Regions from separate parts of the Homo sapiens genome. Here all the other regions are linked to region 3. The links are contacts of gene promoters, found by promoter capture Hi-C in blood cells and fetal thymus (Javierre and others, 2016). All regions are on one chromosome and are shown on one strand. Each heading gives the region's core, a stretch centred on a gene start or on the middle of the fragment in contact. The rest is flanking DNA. Distances are from core to core; before and after follow the strand shown. Region 1 has its middle 86 kb from the start of FLJ13224. Region 2 has its middle 56 kb from the start of FLJ13224. Region 3 holds the start of TSPAN11 (tetraspanin 11).

The links. The method cuts DNA at HindIII sites, captures the fragments that hold promoters and counts their contacts. A CHiCAGO score of 5 or more calls a contact.
Region 1: a fragment that was not itself captured here is called in contact with the fragment with the promoter of TSPAN11 in region 3 in 1 of 17 cell types (fetal thymus); the score reaches 6.0 in fetal thymus.
Region 2: a fragment that was not itself captured here is called in contact with the fragment with the promoter of TSPAN11 in region 3 in 1 of 17 cell types (fetal thymus); the score reaches 5.0 in fetal thymus.

The regions. Positions count from the first base shown.
Region 1 is chr12:31,237,212-31,239,911 of GRCh38, reverse strand. No RefSeq gene overlaps it. Among named protein-coding and RNA genes, the nearest start is that of FLJ13224, 86 kb to the left of the region's middle. The HindIII fragment of the contact is 6,965 bases long and covers 1-2,700 here.
Region 2 is chr12:31,266,510-31,269,209 of GRCh38, reverse strand. No RefSeq gene overlaps it. Among named protein-coding and RNA genes, the nearest start is that of FLJ13224, 56 kb to the left of the region's middle. The HindIII fragment of the contact is 8,159 bases long and covers 1-2,700 here.
Region 3 is chr12:30,925,296-30,928,051 of GRCh38, reverse strand. TSPAN11 (tetraspanin 11) reads right to left here and starts at 1,304. Exons shown (of 8, transcript NM_001370302.1): 1 at 1,256-1,304. LOC124902911 (a long non-coding RNA gene) reads left to right here and starts at 1,363. Exons shown (of 2, transcript XR_007063264.1): 1 at 1,363-2,756. The HindIII fragment of the contact is 3,619 bases long and covers 1-2,756 here.

The sequences.
Region 1 (2,700 bases), core at 116-2,615, 310 kb before region 3:
GCCAGACATGGTGCGTGCCTGTAGCCCCAGCTACTTGGGAGGTTGAGGTGGGAGGATCCTGTGAGCCCAGAAGGTCGAGGCTGCTGTGAGCTGTGATTATACCACTGCACTCCAGCCTGGGTGACAGAGTGGGACACTGTCTCAAAAAAAAGTGGCAATAAAGTGGCAATAAAGGCACTCTCGTTATCACTGTGTATGGGGAATGGAACCCCAAATCTGAGGAAAATTTCTTTCAGTAAGGCTTTTGAAACCCTCTCAGTGTGGCAGGGAAAGGCTTGCACCTGTCCAATAAATGTGTCCACCATGACTAACAACTAACTAAAATTTTCTTTAGCTCTTGGCTTTACGTTAAAGATCCAAATCCTGGCTACCATTCCCCAGGTCCTAGGGAATATTATAGCCAGGAAGCATTGCAATAAAAAAAACTTTTTCTTTTTCACAAGCTCAAAGCTAAAAGCAGCCCAATTCTGCAGAATACATCCTACCGGGCCACAAGGAGGAATAGAGCACACATTTCCCATTTTAGATGACAACCTTAGGTGACAAACCCTTAATGCCTCAGCTGGGCTTTGAACTGTGTTTAAACCAAGTCAAACAATTTTAAACAAGTCCAAAAATTTTAAATGTGATTTCCCAAGGTCCCAGTCCCTTCAGCTGTCTATGGGGTATCTCCCACCCAACGCTCTGAAGAAGCAGAGCGTAATATCTTGCCCAAGCAATGCCAAGATGTCTTGCCAAAGTGGGACCAAATGTCTGAAGGAAAAATACCTTGAGGCCGTTGTCCATGAGCCTGCCACTTAACGGCAGACGTCTTCCCAGCCAAGTGCCTTGTTTTTAACACTGCAATAGTCATAGCACCCCACGGGCCAGTGGTGCCTGGTTATCAGCCAAACACACAGATCCCTGAATGAAATAATTCGGGCAGCCGCTAGATGGGGTCTGAGGGTGACTATGACTAGAGGCTGATGTGCCATAAGCGAGATGCCCACTTCGGACTTTTGTCCCTTCATGGTTGTTAATTGTTTTAGAACTGAACTAGGACCCTTACCAGGCACAATAAAACCAGATTTCTATACGGAGGCTTTGCAGAGATAGAAAGAAAAGCTAAGATCAGGGAAGGAGAGACCAAGGCAGGCTTTTTCATTAGCAATGGTGTTGAGCAGGCAGTTTGGGTAATTTCTTTTCTTTTTTTGAGATAGAGTTTCACTCTTGTTACCCAGGCTGGAGTGCAGTGGTGCGTGCTCGGCTCACTGCAACCTCTGCCTCCTGGGTTCAAGTGATTCTCCTGCCTCAGCCTCTCGAGGAGTTGGGACTATAGGTGTGCGCCACCACGGCTAGCTAATTTTTTGTATTTTTAGTAGAGACGGGGCTGGTCTTGAACTCCTGACCTCAGGTGAACCGCCCGCCTTGGCCTGCCAAAGTGCTGGGATTACAGGCGTGAGCCACTGCGCCTGGCCTGGGTAATTTTCTTCTATACCATCCCAGGTTTAAATTCTGGCCATCCTTCCCTGTCTAGCTGAAATTCCATGGTCTGAATGAAATTTTTGTGTCCCCACTTGCAGGCACCTTACCATCCTCTGAATTTCTCAAGTACACTTTATATCTGTGTTGTCTAAGCAGATGGTTCCTGTCTTTTTCCCTCAACCAGACCATCAGCCCTTTGACGGCTTTCTTTCTATTCTTTTTGACTCCCTTTGTGCCCTCCCCTATTCCCTGACCCACTCCATCCCGTACCAGGCACAGTAATAGATACTCAACAAATATGTCATTAAATTGACTAAACGATCCCCTGCAGCCACATGCACCTGCCTGTGAGCTGGGTGACAGGCTACTTTATTATCTTTCCCATTCTTTATCACATGCCCCCTCCAAAAACAACATTCTAAGTGCTGTATTTCTGGGAGGCTCAGAGACCATTTATTTATTTTTTTAAAGGTTTTTACCTGCATTGTGCAGTGGAGGGGCAAATTCTAGGCCAGACCTGTGGTCAGAGCAGAAACGTAGAGTGGTCTGTGCTGCTCTCAACACTCATTCCAGGATCAGCTGCTGATGGCTGTATCATCTCTGCTGCAAGGCTTTGAGAAGAGCTGTATTCGGGCAGCTCTACAGGAAAAAAAATGTGATCACAGTCTCCCAGGTTTTCTCAGGCAGCAGCAGAAGGTAGTAGCAAACAACCCAGACAGTGGTGACCTGTAGCTGTTTAGGGAAAAATATAGGTGAGTGAATGAAGGAATGAGTGGAAGGAAGGATGGATGAATGAACGAGATCACAAATGAACAGCATGCTGTAGTGGAAAGAAACCTGGAGACATGGGGTTGGCATCCTAACATTTTCCTTATCCTTTGTGTGATGTTGGAAAAATTGCCTGATGTCTTCTCAGTTTCCTCATCTGTAAAGTGGGGCAAAAGTACATACTCCTCAGGGTGGTTGAGAAGATCAAAGGAGATGATGTTTGTGAAAGTACCTACTTCCTTTGAGGCCATGTCTAACGTAACCAGGGTCTCAGTGGACACGTAAGACTGGGTGTGATGGGTACGTGTGTGTCTGTCCCCCACACGTGGGGTTTTAATTGAGTGGGTTTCAATGTGGAAGGTGCCCACTGCATCCTGTCTCCCACCCCGTGATGATCGCCAGCTATTTCAGATGTGGACAGCGGTGTCCCTGGGGGCTGGGCTTGCACTGCAGCTGGAGTTTTAGAGA
Region 2 (2,700 bases), core at 47-2,546, 340 kb before region 3:
TCACACCTGTAATCCCAGCACTTTGGGAGGCTAAAGTGGGAGGATTTCTTGAGGCCAGGAGTTTGAGACCAGCCTGGACAACATAGCAAGACCCTGTCTCTACAAAAAATAAAAAAACGTAGTTGAACATAGTGGCATGCACCTGTAGTTCTAGCTACTTGGGAGGTTGAGGTGGGAGGATTGCTTGAGTTCAGGATTTCTAGGCTGCAGTGAACTATGATCGTGCCACTGCACTCCAGCCTTGGAGATGCAGCAAGACTTGAGACTTTGTCTCTTAAAAAAAAAAAAACCCAAATCAAAACCACTCCTGAAGCATTATATGCCCACTTTTTAGGAATCTATCCAAAGTAGATACTTGAAGTATCACATGATATAAAAAAAATTTACTCAAAATGGATCAAAGACCTAAATGTAAGAGCTCATAAAACTCTTGAAGGGAACATAGGTATAAATATTTATGACCTTGGATTAGGTAACAGTTTCTTAAATATGACACCAAAAGTACAAATAACAAAAGAAAAAAAGATAAATTGGGCTTCATCAAAATTAAAAACTTTTGTGTATAAAGGACACTATCAAGAAAGTGAAGGGCCGGGCCTGGTGGCTCACAGCTGAAATCCCAACATTTTGGGAGGCCAAGGTAGGAGGATTGCTGGAGTCCAGGAGTTTGAGAGTTTGAGACTAGCCTAGGTAACATAGTAAGACCCCAACTCTATTTAAGAAAAGGTAAAAAAAAAAAAAAAAAGAAAAAAAGAAAAAGTGAAAACACAACTTATAGGATGGGAGAAAATATTTGTAAATTGTTTCTGTGATAAGGGCATACTATCCAGAATATATAAATAACTTTCATATGTCAACAATGAAAAGACAAACAATCCAATTAAAAATTGGGCAAAGGGCTGAGCATGGTGGCTCATGCCTGTAATCCCTGTACTTTGGGAGGCTGAGCGGGCAGATCATTTGAGGTCAGGAGTTCAGACTAGTCTGGTCAACATGGTGAAACCCCGTACCTACTAAAAAAAATACAAAAAAAATTAGCTGGATGTGGTTGTGCATGCCTGTAATCCCAGCTTCTCAAGAGGCTGAGTCAGGAGAATCCCTTGAATCTGGGAGAGAGAGGTTGCAGGGAGCCAAGATTGCACCACTGCACTACAGCCTGGGTGACAGAGTGAGGCTCCATCTCAAAAAAAAGAAAAAAAGGCCAGGCAAGGTGGCTCATGCCTGTAATCCAGCACTTTGGGAGGCTGAGGCAGGCAGATCACTTGAGGTCAGGAGTTCGAGACCATCCTGACCAACATGGTGAAACCCCATCTCTACTAAAAATACAAAAATTAGCCGAGCATGGTTGTGCATGCCTATAATCCCAGCTACTTGGGAGGCTGAGGCAGGAGAATGCTTGAACCTAGGAGGCAGAGGTTGTAGTGAGCTGAGATTGCACCATTGCACTCTAGCCTGGGCAACAGAGCGAGACTCCATCTCAAAAAAAAGAAAAGAAAAGAAAAAAGTTGGGCAGAGGATTTAAATAGCCATTTCTTCAATGAAGATATATAAATGGCCAATAAGCACATGAAAAGATGCTCACCTTCATTAGTTATTGAAGAAATGCAAATCAGAACCACACCTAATTGAATGGCAATAATAATAAGGAAAAGGAAAATAAGTATTGGCACAGATGGAAATTAGAACCCTAATGCATTGCTGGTAGGAATGGAAAATGGCACAGCTGCTGTGGAAAAGTTTGGTGGTTCCTCAAAATGTTAAACGTAGATTGAACCTGCAATTCCACTTCTAGCTGTATACCCAAGAGAACTGAAGACATATGCCCACATCAAAACTCGTCCAAAAATGTTCACAGCATCACTATTCACAACAGCCAAAAGGTAGAAACAACCCAATGTCCATCAACTGATGAATAGATAAACAAAATGTGGTAGTACATCCAAAGAGTGGAATACTAATTCAGGCATAAAAAATAGTTCAGCCAAAAAGGAATGAAGCACTGATATATGCTACAACATGGATGCATCTTGGAAATACTATATACTAAGTGAAACAAGCCAGACACAAAAGAACAAATGTGATATGATCCCATTTATATGAAATGTCCGGAATAGGCAAATCCATAGAGACGGAAACTAGATTAGTGGTTGCCAGGCAATGGGGGTAGGGAGGAATTGGGAACGACTGCTAATAGGTATGGAGTTTCTTTATGGGGAGATGGCAACGTTCTGGAATTAGTGGTGATGTTTGTACAACCTTATGAGTATACACAAAACACTGAACTGTACACTTGAACGTGGTTAAAATGTTAAATTTTGGGTTTTATGCATTTTATCTCAGAATATTGCAAACAAAGATTTAGCTACAAGGATGTTCACTAAATTGTTTCTCATATAGAAAAAAAGGAAGAGAAAAAACTGAAGGGTTCAGTAGCGTATTACTTGAATAAATTGTGCTAGAGTTGTATGTACACATTTGTAGAAATGAACTTATTGATGTGAAAAGATGTTTATGATATCAAGTGAAGAAAAACCAGTTCTAAGGTAATATTTAAGGAATTATCCTATTTTTTGAAAAAAACCAAAATACACTAGAGAGGAGTGAGTGGAAGTCCATACACTAATGTGTTAGGGAGGCTGGGCGCGGTGGCTTACGCCTGTAATCCCAACACTTTGGGAGGCCGAGGTGGGCGAATCACCT
Region 3 (2,756 bases), core at 55-2,554:
CCTCTGCTACCCACAAACCAAACAGCTCTGGGCCACCTAAGCCCTCGCCAGACCACCAACTTGGCCCCTGTAGGCCAGTAGTGCCCCTTACCCTAGGAGTCTTAACTATCATCAAAGCATTTCCAGGCATTAATTGGAGCCTCCAGTCCCTTGGGAGACAGATGGGGCCAGTGGTTATTAGTCCCATTTTGCACAAAAAGCAACTGAGCCCCAGATGACCTATCTGTCCAGGGAACAATGCTACTGACACAGTGACAACCATTAAGTTCTGATTCAAACCTGTCTCCAGCCTCTAACTGCTGCTTTCCACTGCAATCCAGCTGCCCACAAATTGAACACAGACTATCCACTTTGGCCTAATACCACCCTCATTCTCTTCTTCACGCTCCCCCACACACACCCTATGCCCCAGAGTGCACTTATGAGTTTTTCCAGAAGCTGCCTCTTCTCCTCACCCCCCACCCCCACGCTCACCTCACAATACTTGCCACGAACTGGAGACCTCTGGAACACTTATTCCTCCTGCACACAGCAGCTTAGACTCAAGTTAAGATGCTGTCCCGCCAAGCCCAACTGGGCTGCCTCCCTTTCATACTTTCCACCAATTCACACATGTGCACACTGCACATATGGCTGGTGAAAAGGATACACCCCAGAACCTTCCATGCCTTCTTTCCACACGGAGCCGGCCAACTGCACATGCAGGGATGGGCACGAAAACACAGGTGACAGGGCCTACACAGCCATGTTGTCACAAATACACAGACGTGCCCAGAACATGAGGACATCCCTGCACAGGCAGACAGGCCCTCTGAAAGCAATGTGCACCAGATACAGCATTTTGGTGTAGCCATGAGAGGCAGCTACTCGAATTCAGGGTGGACAAAGAATGACATTTTCAAGAGGAACAGACATGCCCCGGGCACGCTGGACGGCACGAGGCCCTCAGAGGCCCAGAGCTCTCTCCCAAGGCACAAGTGCAGAAAGGCAGACTCATGCGCATAGTTATGGACACCGTGTTGCGTGTCCCATGCAGACACCAATACCTGCTCACATGCCCCGCGAGTGTCCCAGGCATTCCTGCCTCCTCCACTCCTCATCCCCAGCCGGCTTCCCTCTGCCCGCCCGGGGGAAGCTCGGGACAGTCTAGCTCGGGACTGCCGGCGGGGCGGGCAGCGGAGGTGGAGGCGCCTCTCCTGGACCCCCAGCCCCCTCCCGCGGCGCCCCCACTCCTCGGGCGCGCTTCTGCACTTACCCTGCCAGGGGCTCCGGAAGCGGCGAAGGGAGCTGCGCCTAGAGAGACTGAGAGCGGCGGCTCCCGGGGCCGCCCAGCCGCCCACCGCCCGCAGCCAGCGCTCCTCCCTCCCAGCCCGGGAAGGTCAGCGTGTGGGCAGCCCGGCCCGCGCCCCTGCGCCCACTGAGGCTTCCTGCCGGCCCTCTAGTCCCCGCCTGCCCAGCGCTCGGCCGCGACGCCCCGGCGCCGGCTCTCCCAGCCCAGCCGGCAGGACGCGCCCGGGAGCCCCGCACGCGAGCTGCCGGCTCTTTGTTTGGGGGTTTGCCTCTCTGCGATTCAGAGCACGCGGAGGGAATTAAGTCAGAGTCCGAGGCAGCTGTGCGGTTGCCGGGGGGATCCCTAAGGGGGGCGGGGCAAAAGGACGGACTAGTAGGGCGGTGGAGCGGCTTTCAAACTCCCCGCGCTCCGCAGCTCCCCGCTTAGGTCTCCCTGCCCTTTACGTTTGTCGGCCCCTGGGAGAGGTTGGCCTTTGGGGGTTTCCAGGGACCCTAGGGACAAGCCTGTCTGATAAGAGAGAGGTTCTCCATCCCCCTTCCTCACCAGCCCCCATCACTGCCGTGTCCCTCTTAGAGTCCTGTGGAGCATCAGCTTTACATTTCCTGGGCCCCGGGGAGAATCAAGGTCTCTCTAATCTGAAGCAAAAAGGAATAACAGAGAGTAGAGCCCATCTGTTCCTGCTGAGTCCCTGTGAAGGTGCAAAGCTGGCCCTAACGGGACTGGCCCTAACAGTGGGGCATGGATTATCTATTTCCCAAAGTAACAAGGGCCTTGTGCTTATCCAACCGTGTTCTTTTGAAACTTAGCTGCAGTGAGGAAGATTACCCATTTACCAGGTTGCTAGATCAGGGAAGCCACTGGAGGCAGGGGACGCTGACAAAGCCACTGTACCGGGAGCACCAACGTTCTAAATACCCCAGCTGGCTGCTGAGAAGGGCTTCGCGGGGGGCCACACAGGAAGGAGATGATTCCAATAGTCCCGTGAGATGAGGACCTTAACTGGGGGATGAATGCGGAAGCTGCAGCAAAGGAGAGTCTACAGACTGTGTGGTGTAGGAGGAGCACACTGGGGCTGTAACATTGTGGAAGTCTGGAGGAGAACCTGGAGTGATGTGACTGAGTTTAGTGTGGAGCAAGTTGGATTGGAGAAGCAGGCCACCTTCTTCCAGGGGCAGATATCCAGCAAATGCAATTGGAAGGGTGATTCTGGAGTTCATAGGAGAGACTGAGGCAAGGGATGTCAATTTTGGAATCATCTGGAAAGAAGTTGGGCCGACACAAGAGGTGGAGGGAGAGGGTAGAAAAGGTACAGAGAACAGGGCTGAAGACAGAATCTAGGTCTACCGAGAAGGAGCCCATGAAAGGAACGGAAACTATCAGGAGAAACCATAAGGGAAGGTCAGGACTGTGCGGGGTGTCAGGACTCAGGAGAAGAGGGAGGTTCAATGGGGGCCGGGGCCCGGGC